4 separate regions of the Homo sapiens genome follow, and all the other regions are linked to region 1. The links are contacts of gene promoters, found by promoter capture Hi-C in blood cells and fetal thymus (Javierre and others, 2016). All regions are on one chromosome and are shown on one strand. Each heading gives the region's core, a stretch centred on a gene start or on the middle of the fragment in contact. The rest is flanking DNA. Distances are from core to core; before and after follow the strand shown.

The links. The method cuts DNA at HindIII sites, captures the fragments that hold promoters and counts their contacts. A CHiCAGO score of 5 or more calls a contact.
Region 2: a fragment that was not itself captured here is called in contact with the fragment with the promoter of ZNF155 in region 1 in 1 of 17 cell types (non-activated CD4 T cells); the score reaches 7.4 in non-activated CD4 T cells.
Region 3: a fragment that was not itself captured here is called in contact with the fragment with the promoter of ZNF155 in region 1 in 1 of 17 cell types (non-activated CD4 T cells); the score reaches 7.8 in non-activated CD4 T cells.
Region 4: a fragment that was not itself captured here is called in contact with the fragment with the promoter of ZNF155 in region 1 in 1 of 17 cell types (non-activated CD4 T cells); the score reaches 10.8 in non-activated CD4 T cells.

Annotation. Positions count from the first base shown.
Region 1 is chr19:43,982,581-43,985,567 of GRCh38, forward strand. ZNF155 (zinc finger protein 155) reads left to right here and starts at 1,608. Exons shown (of 5, transcript NM_198089.3): 1 at 1,608-1,665. RefSeq lists a silencer at 1,305-1,504. The HindIII fragment of the contact is 8,717 bases long and covers 1-2,987 here.
Region 2 is chr19:57,592,895-57,595,881 of GRCh38, forward strand. ZIK1 (zinc finger protein interacting with K protein 1) reads left to right here. Exons shown (of 4, transcript NM_001010879.4): 4 at 1-996. Among named protein-coding and RNA genes, the nearest start is that of ZNF530, 5.5 kb to the right of the region's middle. The HindIII fragment of the contact is 4,262 bases long and covers 1-2,987 here.
Region 3 is chr19:57,445,619-57,448,605 of GRCh38, forward strand. It overlaps ZNF749 (zinc finger protein 749), which reads left to right. Exons shown (of 3, transcript NM_001023561.4): 3 at 1-1,483. Among named protein-coding and RNA genes, the nearest start is that of VN1R1, 10 kb to the right of the region's middle. The HindIII fragment of the contact is 196 bases long and covers 1,322-1,517 here.
Region 4 is chr19:57,425,254-57,428,240 of GRCh38, forward strand. No RefSeq gene overlaps it. Among named protein-coding and RNA genes, the nearest start is that of ZNF749, 8.6 kb to the right of the region's middle. The HindIII fragment of the contact is 2,068 bases long and covers 485-2,552 here.

The sequences.
Region 1 (2,987 bases), core at 358-2,857:
CGGGCATGGTGGCGAGCACCTGTAGTCCCAGCTACTCGGGAGGCTGAGACAGAAGAATGGCATGAACCTGGGAGGCAGAGCTTGCAGTGAGCCGAGATCGCGCCACTGCACTCTAGCCTGGGCGACAGAGCAAGACTCCGTCTCAAAAATAAAATAAAATAAAATAAAATAAAATAAAATAAAATAAAATAAAATAAAATAAAAGCCAGGCAGGCTATGATATTTTGTGACTAAAAAATATTGGTACTGAGAGGTGGGCTTGCTGCTGCAACAAATACCTAAAAATGTAGCAGTCTTTGGAACTATGTAATGGATAGAGTCTAGAAGAGTTTTTACATGTATGCTAGGAAAAGCCTACATTGCCATGAATGGACTGATAAGGACAATTCTGGTTAGCGCTCAGAAATAGAGAATAAGAACTGTAGAGAAAACATCAATCTTGTTAGAGCATACCTAGGTAGTCATGATCAGAATGTTGGTAGAAATATGGACAGTAAAGGCCATTCTGAAGACCTCAGTCAGAAATGTTGAACATGTTATTGGAAGAGAAGAGAGCTTCTTGTTATAAAGGGACAAAGAATTTGGCTGAATTATATTCAGGTGCTAGTGTTTTATGGAAGGTAGAATTTGTGAATGATATAATTGTTTATCTGAATTAATTTCTAATCAAAGTGTTGAAGTTGCTTGAATCATCTTGACTACCCGTAGTGAAAGGCACGAAGTGAGGAATGACTGAAATAATTATTAATTAAAAGGGAAACAGAACTAAAATTTTTAAAAGTTTACAGCCTATCTACTTTGGAAAAAAAAAAAAACAGGAAACCTGAAGAATACAAGGGTATGGTTAAGCAACTAACTAATTCATGAATTTAGTATGGATTGGCCATGTCAACTGAAGCCAGGACCTATTGTCCAAGACAATGGAAGAATGACCCCAAAGGCATTTCACAGATTATGGCAGCTTCTCCTCCCATCACAGGCCCAGAGTGCAAGGACCTGGGGGACAGAAAGGGCCTTTGATGCCAGATATACCCTAATATATTAGGCACAGTTTCCTGCCTACTACGATTGAGCGTGTCAATAAATTTTTATCTCTTGGGAGGGCAGAACAGAGCAAGGATACAGCTGTAACTGGTTTAGAAATAGCAGTCACTCAATTTTCAGAGAAGTGTTCCTCATACTGTGGTTGGCACAGTCACTTTATCTAAAGAAAACCATGAAAAGTATTCTTTTTTAGTTTAGAAAAATTGATATAGAACATGAGACTCCATTTTTTTAAAATAAAAATATAGGTTGATAGGCCAGAATTCACAGGTCCACCTGCCTGAGCCAAAATTCTCACGCCTCCACAGAGCAAATGGACTCCATTTCCCAAGATACCAGCGAAACGCCTGCGGGAGTCTAATTGCCCGGTCGATGCGCAGGAAATTTGGCTCCCGCAGGCGTTTCGCGAGTAGCTTGGGAGGCGTGGGAATTTTGGCCCAGGCAGGAGGACCTGTGAATTCTGGGAAGTGGAGTCCATTTGCTCTGTGGAGTCGTGGGAACTTTGGCTCAGGCAGGCGGATTCGGGGGATTCTGGGAAGTGTAGTCCAGACGCCTGTGGCATCATCGACACTTCCGGTCTCCGAGCAGGACACTGCTACTTAACAAGGTGGTTTGAGCCAAGTATGTGTCTTGCGGGTCTTTGCGAAAGTGAACCAGTTATTAGGGGCGCCTAACGACCTGGGGGGTCAACTAAGGGGGTAAGAAGCCCTGGAGAAGACCTGAGGTTTGGAGATGCGAGGGGTGGGAGGGAAGTTTCGTTGCCGTCGATGGAGCCTTCTGGCGTTGGGGGCTGTACTCAGGTCCACCGGAGGAGTCGTCGGGGGTTCGGGGGGGGCGGGGAAGAACTCTGTCTAGTCTTGTGTGCCTGTTTAGAGGGTTTTCCAGGTGTTTGACCTCGTTCAGTCCGCCTCCCTCCACTCTTAAGTGTGCGACCTCTTTCTCGCGATATAACGTGGGGTGTTACTTAATCTCCCTGTACCTCCCATTGCCGTTTTTTAAATGAGGATTTCAGGACCATCCTGATAGAATTGTTTTAGGAGTTGAAAGTTGTGGTATAAAACAAAGACTTAACAGCTCCTGTCACTTGGTGTCCTGTTAATTTCCCGCGAAGTGGTCAGGTGCCCGGGTGGGGTCAGAGCTCCAGCTGCTCCGGCCCTTCTCTTGGAGCCCGGCAGGGCTCTGGATGATCCCGGACGCCTCTGACCTCTTTTTAGGAAGGCGTGGGTTGCATCCACGTTTCACGAAGGGAGAGGAGCATTTAACTTGTATCCGGGACGGCGACGCAGAGTGTTTGACAGCTTTCTCCTTCCCCAGCCTGACTTTTCTAAAAGAGCTGCAGGGAGGGACTTGGCTACTGAGGACAAAGCTGTCTACACGAGTGGTCTTTGGCTTTTCTCTTTTTAAAAAAAAGTTATTTATTTTGTTAGTCTGTTTTTATTATTGTTATTATTTGAGAATGAGGTTTGCTCTGTCTCCCAGGCTGGAGTGCAGCAGTGGCGCGATCTTGGCTCACTGCAACCTCCGCCTCCTGGGTTCAAGCGATTCTCTGTCCTCAGCTCCGGAGTAGCTGGGATTACAGGCATGCGTCACCATGCCCGGCTAATTTTTGTATTTTTAGTAGAGACGGGGTTTCACCATGTTGGCCAGGCTGGTCTCGAACCTGTGGTCCTAAGTGATCCGCCTGCCTCGGCCTCCCAAAGTGCTGGAATTACAGGTGTGAGCCACCGCGCCGGGCCGGTTTTTTCTTTTACAGAGATGTTCACCTCAACCAAGAGTGTATAGGATGTGTCCTTGGGCATGGGTGTTGATAATAATTAAACCTTAATTGGTAACTTAATTCTAAGGGCTTTATGGAAATAAATACATTTACGCCACACCATGGCTCTGTGGAAAGGTATTGCTCTTTTTCTTTTTTTTTTTTTTTTTTTTTTCCTGAGACGGAG
Region 2 (2,987 bases), core at 165-2,664, about 14 Mb after region 1:
ACCTCTTGCTGTTTTACAATCTCTGCGTGTACTTTCCAGGCCTTCAGGAGTCCTGTCATTTACTTTCCCTACAGGAGAATAGTTTGTGTTTTCTAGGATTTTATGTGAATTGAAACGTAAAATACTTACTCCATTTTTCCTGATGATGCACAATTTTTTTTTTTTTTTTGAGATGGAGTCTCAGTCTGTCACCAGGCTGGAGTGCAGTGGCATGATCTTGGCTCACTCCAACCTCCTCCTGGGTTCCAGCGATTCTCCTGCCTCAGCCTCCTGAGAAGCTAGGACTACAGGCATGCACTACCACGCCCAACTAATTTTTGTATTTTTAGTAGAGATGTGGTTTTACCATGTTTGCCAGGATGGTCTTGATCTCTTGACCTCGTGATCCGCCCGCCTCAGCCTCCCGAAGTGCTGGGATTACAGGCGTAAGCCACCACACCAGCTGATGCACAATTACTTTTAAGATTTATCAATATTGCTTATGTGAATAGTTCATTTGTATTGCTGAGAAATAGTCTGTGGATATGTCACAATTTGGATAAACAGTTGGATGCTTTCCAGTTTTGGGCTGTTGCAAATAATGCTACTATGAACATAGGCATATAACTCTTAATATGCAGAAATGCTTTATTTCTCCTGTGTCAGTAGTACAGTGTACGTGAATGCGTCACTTTTAAAGACAAGGCCAGACTATAACCTAACTGTACCATTTGCATTCTCATCAACAGTATGTGAACCTTCTTATTTCTCTACATTCTTGCCATACTTGGTATGGTTAGTCTTTTTAATTTTAGTTGTTTTAATAGCTGTATAATAGCATCTGTCTGTGATTTTATTGCATTTTTCTGGTATTTTATGGTATTGAACATTTGAACATCTTGTATCTAGTTGCCACCTGTATATCCTCTTTGGAAGAATGTTTATTAATGTCTTTTGCTTATTTTTAAATGGATGTTGGTGATACTTTTTCATTAATAAATAGACGTATAACAAAGACTTATGTTGAAACTTTACTCATTCTTCAGTAATGTGATGCACTTATTTGCTAAATGATAAAATTGTTTTCAAATACTGGGAAAATAATTTCTCAGTTTTTTGGTCTATTCACAGTGTAACAACTACAGACACTATATACCTGAAACACTACCTTCATTGACAAATTCTCCATCACTTTCTTAGGTCTAACCATTCAATGAAACAAATAAGCCCTGGTTTTTAATATTTGCCAATTTCCCTGGTAAAATACTCCCACCATGGCCAATTACAAGGTGTCAAAATAATGTCACTGAACATGAATTGAGAAGAAGTGGGTAGCGTCACACCACTGTATTCTACTTTCACCATGCCAATACAGTAGCCGCAGATAACCTGAAGATCATGTATGTAGGAACCATACAGCCTGTGGTGTGGCAAGACTGATGCCATCTTGAAGTGAAGCTGTCATGGTCACCTATGTTCTGAAGCAGTAGCATAGATATCATCAAAATGCTTCTCTCCCCCAATGGTCATGAGTCTTGGCAAGAAAGTCTGAAGACGTGAAGAGCTGCACGTTTTACCCTAAAAACTCCAGGCCGGGCGTGTTGGCTCTTGCCTGTAATCCCAACACTTTGGGAGGCCAAGGTGGGCAGATCACGAGGTCAGGAGATGGAGACCATCCTGGCTAACATGGTGAAACCCCATCTCTACTAAAAATAGAAAAATTAGCCGGTTGTGGTGGCTTACGGGTGCCTGTAATCCCAGCTACTTGGGAGGCTGAGGCAGGAGAATCACTTGAATCCAGGAGGTGGAGGTTGCAGTGAGCCGAGATCACGCCATTGCACTCCAGCCTGGCAACAGAGCAAGACTCCGTCTAGAAAAACAAACAAACAAAAAACTCCAGCCTTGTTGACCACTACAAAAAGGGTCCTATAAAGGATGTAAAGGAAACTGCCTTCTGGAGGGCAGATACAGGGATCCATTGTCTCACAGCTGCACAAGACATCACTTCTGTTCATGAGTCCCTATGAAATGTTTCTGAAAACAATTTGGCCTCTTCCTCCTTCTTTGGCCTTTCAGCTTCGTTGGCCTTTGGGATAGATTTTCATACACCTGCTCACTATAGAACAATGTATATATAAGAGTAAAACAGTAAAATGATTAAGAATTGACTTTTGAGTATTTATTACTTGTGTTTTTAAAAGTGGCTTAAGTGAAATCTAGTTGTCTTAAATTCTGCATATTTAAAGTATACAATTTCTATTTTAATATATACTCGAAACCATAAGTTTCCACCTGCCCTTTTTAGTCCATCCCTCTTAACAAGTAATGGGTACAAAAACTTATTTTTCCTCTTCTAATGGATATTTTCAAGTATATACACAAATGGAAAGGACTGTGTTCAGATGCACTATGAAACCTTTCTAAATCTTCCATTATTACTTATCATTTAGTAGCCATTCTTGTTTCAACTCTTTTCACACATAATTATTTTACTTACAATTCCCACATCTTGTCATTCAATGCTGCACCTCTTCAGAATGCATTTTCAAGCATAAGAGCTCTTTCATAATTCCTATAACTTTATCAATCATTATTTAAGGCATCATAAAATATATCATCAGTGCTCAGTCACCTCGAATTGTCTCCAAAATTGATTTTTAAGACAAATTCATTGCAATCAGATCCAAAATGAATCTATATGGCTATTAGTAGTTTCATCTGGTGAGTCTATAATAATACACAGCTACCACTTTTTATTATTATTCTTGAAGTTGATGAGACATTTGTCCAGAATTTGCCACATTCTGGAATGGTGCGTGTTTTTGTTTTGTGTCTCTCTGATGTCATTTAACATGCTGACCCTTTCTCCATATTCCTGTGCACTAGATATTAAGGAAATGGGTAACTGAACTCTGGTCCTGCAGATAGGTGTGCAATAGTAACACACTTATGCAGTGTGACTGTGTTGTGTGTATGTGTATGTCTATTCAAAAGGTGACATTCACAGA
Region 3 (2,987 bases), core at 170-2,669, about 13 Mb after region 1:
TGCTGGGAACTACATTAAAAACATTTATGTCCAGGCGTGGTGGCTCACGCCTGTAATCCCAGCACTTTGGGAGGCAGAGGTGGGTGGATCACCTGAGGTCAGGAGTTTGAGACCAGCCGGGCCAACATGGTGAAGCCCCATCTCTACTAAAAATACAAAAATTAGCTGGGCATGGTGGCAGGTGCCTGTAATCCCAGCTATTCAGGGGACTGAGGCAGGGAGCATCACTTGAACCTGGGAGGCGGAGGTTGCAGTGAACTGAGATTGTTCCATTGCACTCCAGCCTGGGTGACAGGGCGAGACTCTGTCTCAAAAAGAAAAAAATTATAATTGTGGCAAATTACAGGTAACTTAAAATCTACCATCTTAACCCATATTTAACTGTACTGTTCAGTAGTGTTAAGTCATTCGCATTGTTGTCAATTAATATCCAGAAGTTTTTTCAACTTAATGAAACTAAAACATTATACCCTTTAAACCAGGGGTCCACAACCCCCAGGCTGCAAACTGGTACCAGTCTGTGGCCTGTTAGGAACCGGGCCAGCATCACTACCTGAGCTTCACCTCCTGTCAGATGAGCAGCATTAGATTCTCATAGCAGCCTGAGCCCTATTGTGAACTGTGCCTGTGAGGGATCTAGGTTGTGTGCTCCTTATGAGAATCTAACTAATACCTGATGATCTGAGGTGGGACAGTTTTATTCTGAAACTGTCTGCCCCCTCCTCTGTCCCTGATGCGTGGAAAAATTGGCTTCCATGAAACCAGTCCCTGGTGCCAAAGAGGTTGGGGACCGCTGCTTTAAACTACTCCTCTTCCTCATTCCCTACGCCAACCAGCCCCTGACAATACTACTGTATGAATTTTACTATAAATATCTCATATGAGGAAACTTAAGTTTTAGTCTTTTGTGACTTATTTTGAGGCTTATTTCCCTAAATGTCTTCAAGGTTTATCCATGTTGTAGCATAGCTTATGATTTTCATCTTTTTTAAAGGCCGAATAAAATCCCATTGTAGTCATGTGTCGCCTAACAAGAGGACTGTGTTCTGAGTAATCATCTTAAGGTGATTTTGTCATTGTGTGAACAAAGAGTGTACTTACACAAACCTGAAGGGCACAGCCTATTACGCACCTAGGCTATATGATATGGTCCATTGCGCCTCAGATATAAACCTTAACAGCATGTTACAGTATTGAATATTGTAGGTAATTGAAACACAATGATAAGTAAATGTGTATCTAAACATATCTAAGTTTCCAAAAGGTACTGTAAAAATGTATGAAAAATGGTAAAAACTTTATAGGGCACTAACATGAACGAAGCTTGCGGGACCCCTCTGGTTGAGTCAGGGAGTGAGTTGTGAGTGAATGTGAAGCTCTAGGACATTACTGTACCCTATTGTAGATGTTATAAACATTGTACACTTAGGCTACTCTAAATTAATTTTTTCTTTAGTAATAAATTAACCTTAGTCTACTGTAACGTTTTTACTTCATGAACTTTTAAAATTTTAAAAAGCTTTTTGACTCTTTTGTAATAATAGCTTAAAACACAAACACATTATACAGCCTGTATAGAAGTACTCCTTTATATTCTATAAACTTTTTCTATTTAATTTTTTAACTTCGTAAAAAATAAGTTAAAAATGAAGACACAGACACACACATTAGTCAAGGCCTACAGAGGGTGAGGATCATTAATATCACTGTCTTTTGCCTCCACATCTTGTCCCACTAGAAGGTTTTCAGGCTCAATAACAGGGAGTTGTTATCTCCTATGATAACAATATTCTGGAATATTTTCTGAAGCCTTGCCTCACACTTTTTTTTTTTTTTTTTTTTTGAGACAGAGTCTCGCACTGTTGCCAGGCTGGAGTGCAGTGGCACAATCTCGGCTCACTGCAACCTCTGCCTCCTGGGTTCAAGTGATTCTCCTGCTTCAGCCTCCCGAGTAGCTAGGATTACAGGTGCCTGCCACCACGCTCAGCTAATTTTTTGTATTTTTAGTAGAGATGGCGTTTCACTATGTTGGCCAGGCTGGTCTCGAACTCCTGACCTCATGATTCGCCCGCCTCAGCCTCCCAGAGTGCTGGGATGACAGGCATGAGCCACCGCGCCTGGCTTTATTTTTTTTTTGAGACAGAGTCTTGCACTGTTGCCTGGGCTGGTGTGTAGTGGTGTGATCTTGGCTCACTGCAACCTCCGCCTCCCGGGTACAAGCGATTCTCCTGCCTCAGCCTCCCGAGTAGCTAGGATTACAGGTGCCCACCAGCATGCCCGGCTAATTTTTTGTATTTTTAGTAGAGATGGGGTTTCACTATGTTGGCCAGGCTGGTCTCCAACTCCTGACCTCATGATCCGCCCATCTCGGCCTCCCAAAGTGCTGGGATTACAGGCATGAGCCACAGCGCCCGGCCTGTGCTCTTTATATGACTGGCAGACCAGTAGGTTTGTTTACACCAGTGTCACCACACACACTTGAGTAATGGGATTGAGTTACAGTGGCTGTGGTGGCACTAGGTGATAGGAGTTGTTTAGCTCTGTTATAATACGGGATTACTGTTATACATGTGGTCCATGGTAGACAGAAATGTGTGGCATATGACTGTGGTATATGTATATGCCACTTTTCCTGTATTCTTTCTTCAGTGTACATTTGGGTTGCTTCCACTCTTCTGTTCTTGTTAATGCCACTATGAGCATGAATATACAAATACCTCCTGAGGCCCTGCTTTAAATTCTTCTTGGACATATACCCAGAAGTGGAAATGGTGCTTCCCGTTAATAATAATAATTATAATAATAATAATTATTATTATTATTTTGAGACGGAGTCTTGCTCTGTCACCCAGGCTGGAGTTCAGTGGCACAATCTCGGCTCACTGCAAGCTCCGCCTCCCGGGTTCACGCCATTCTCCTGCCTCAGCCTCCCAAGTAGCTGGGACTACAGGTGCCCGCCACCACGCCCGGCTAATTTTTTGTATTTT
Region 4 (2,987 bases), core at 269-2,768, about 13 Mb after region 1:
GGCAGGAGAATGGCGTGAACCCGGGAGGCGGAGGTTGCAGTGAGTGGAGATCGTGCCACTGCACTCCAGCATGGGCGACAGAGTGAGACTCCGTCTAAAAAAAAAGAAAACAGGTTATCAGTTTGTAAACTCTGATTTCTCTGGGTCATTGTGCCCATAAACTTTTCTTTTTCTTTTTTTTGAGACGGAGTCTCACTCTGTCGTCTGGGCTGGAGTGCAGTGGCGCGATCTCAGCTCACTGCAACCTCCGTTTCCTGGGTTCAAGCGATTCTTCTGCTTCAGCCTCCTGTGTAGCTGGGATTACAGGCATGCGCCACCACGCCCGGCTAATTTTTGTATTTTTAGTAGTGATGGGGTTTCACCATATTGGTCAGAATGGTCTTGAACTCCTGACCTTGTGATCCGCCCAAACTCGGCCTCCCAAAGTGCTGGGATTACAGGCGCGAGCCACCGCACCCGGCCGGTTTTACCATTTTTAGAGCCAAGCTTTACTATATATTTGATATTTGTTCTTTCTTCAACCTTAGCTGAATTCACATTCCTCTGATAGAAGGTGTTTTCAAACTGATGCCGTTCTTAGTGCCTCAAACTAGATCCTGTTCATACTTGTTAGAACAAGTTATTACAAATTCACTTTGGTGTAAAAAATTGAAATCCATACATAATTTTTTTTTTTTTTTTTGACAGAGTCTCACTAACGCTAGGTTGGAGTGCAGTGGCATGATCTCGGCTCATTGCAACCTCCGCCTCCTGGGTTCAAGCAATTCTCCTGCCTCAGCCTCTTGAGTAGCTGGGATTACAGGTGCCCACAATCACGCCCAGCTAATTTTTGTATTTTTAGTAGAGATGGGTTTTCACTCTGTTGGCCAGGCTGCTCTCGAACTCCTGACCTCAGGTGATCCACCTGCCTGGGCCTCACAAAGTGCTGTGATTACAGGCTTAAGCCACCACCCCTGGCCAATTTTTTCATAATATACATTTTTTTCTCATTTTTCATGAAACTTTTGAAGACCCCTCATATTCTAGATATTCCTTCTCAGATATGTGGTTTTCAAATACTTTCTCCCATTGAGTCTTTTTCCTTTTCACTCTGTCCATTATGTCCTTTTTTACACAGGAATTTTGAATTTAAATGGAGTCTAATATATCTGTTTTATAAGTCTTTGATGCATTTGAGTTCATTTTAGCAACTTAATTCTTTTGCGTGTGGATATCCAGTTTTTTTTTTTTAACATCAAAAGAATAATGTTTTTGCCTAGCATTAAGGCCCTTGGTAGAGGCTTGTCAGTTACAATTTTGGAGCAGCAGATTAAGTCCACACTCCCAACCATTTTCCTTATCAGGCTCTCAAACTCTGGGCCACAATATGTAAGACCCAATCACCCCAGGATCAGGAATCAGATATCTAGGGACAGCTTCTGTGCCCAGGAGCTTGTAAAATTATTCCATTGGTCAATGCACAGGGGTCCCTGAAAACCTAGCTAACCCCAATTTACATGGCACACACAAGCTGCCCCCTAAGCTCCAGCTTGCTGTTATCTTGGGTTCCCTCATAACTCTTGCAGCCCTGCCTATGTCCTTAGGTTTCAAGCTGTAAGTAGCAAAGTGGTCTACATTTTATGATTATCATTGTGACATGTCCTGACATCAGAAAAACACCTTTGTATGTTATTACTATACAACCAGCAGAATATTATGAGTGCAGCAAATGTTAGAAAGTATTCAGCCTAACTTCACTGAGCAAGAGTAAGTTCATCCTGGAGAAAGTCCTTAGGAATGCAGGCAATATACTTTTTTTCCTTTGTCAACAGGTCAAAAACAGCAAAGCTCTATCGAGCTTGTCTTACTCACCCTATTTTTTTGTTGCTCTGTTTTGTTTTAGGCTTTTAGCCTGAAGCCATGGTTTTGTTTCTGTCTCTAGTGGTAGGTGGACAAGAGGAATGAGATGAGAAAGGAGCTTTACTGGCCCAGCTAGAAACAAACTAAGAACCCATGACTGTATTCTTTCCCTTGGATGACCCTGTGTTAGCTTGTTGAGGGAGATCTCAGCCTGAAATTGAATCTCACATCCAAACATCCACGCAAGGGAGATTTGTTGTAATTGTCAGATATATGGTAAATTTTTGTGAATGATGTTGCACTTTCTGACCCTGCCTGGGGCCTTTCCAGAGTTAAGTTGCTGAAAGTGTGCATTACAGAAGACTCCTGCTATTAGCTGTCATGGTGCCACAATGTGCATCACCTTAGTCACCTTAAATTACTTAGAGAGTGATAAGGTCTGGACTTCTGGTTAAATGTTTTTAAAAAATGGGGGGTGGGGGGGTGGTGCATAGATTGCTGTGTTCTCTACCTTTATCTGGAATATTCAGTCATTTGTTCCCTTTGGGGGCCTCATTCCCAGTCCCCTGACTGGTTTGGGTGTGGACATCACCCAGCTTTGGACAGAGAACACACGCCAACTTCAGCTGGCAGCTTGTAGAGATTTCCTTTTTTCAGAGGTATTATTAGTTGTCTGATACTGATAATGTTGATGATAAATTTTCTACCTTCCAAGCTTCCCAACCCAGTCAATTTCCACCTAAGCATTGCTGTTTTCTTCTGATGATAAAGGTCATATTGTTTAAGCTACATTTACTCTTGGGGTTCTCTTCACTGTGTGCTGCGGGTTGAGAACAAAATTAGGCTTTGCCAGAATGAAAAAGTGAATGGTTTTTGGGGCCTTCAACTTTTTGTGCTCTTGAAGAAATAAGAAGACAAAATAGCTTTCAATCCACATCAGGCCCAATTTGCATTGCTTCGGGAGTTCCTGGGAAAGTGACGGACTTCTATCCAAAATCGCGCCGTGAATTTGATTATTGGTAGTTCTACAGTCAGCTTGAGGGTTGTTGGTTTGACAGTTGTCAGAGCATGTTGCAGCTGTATGAGGTGGGTATCTGTACATATGGATGTCCCATATTCTCCAGCATTGCATAGGAATAGCTGGTGTC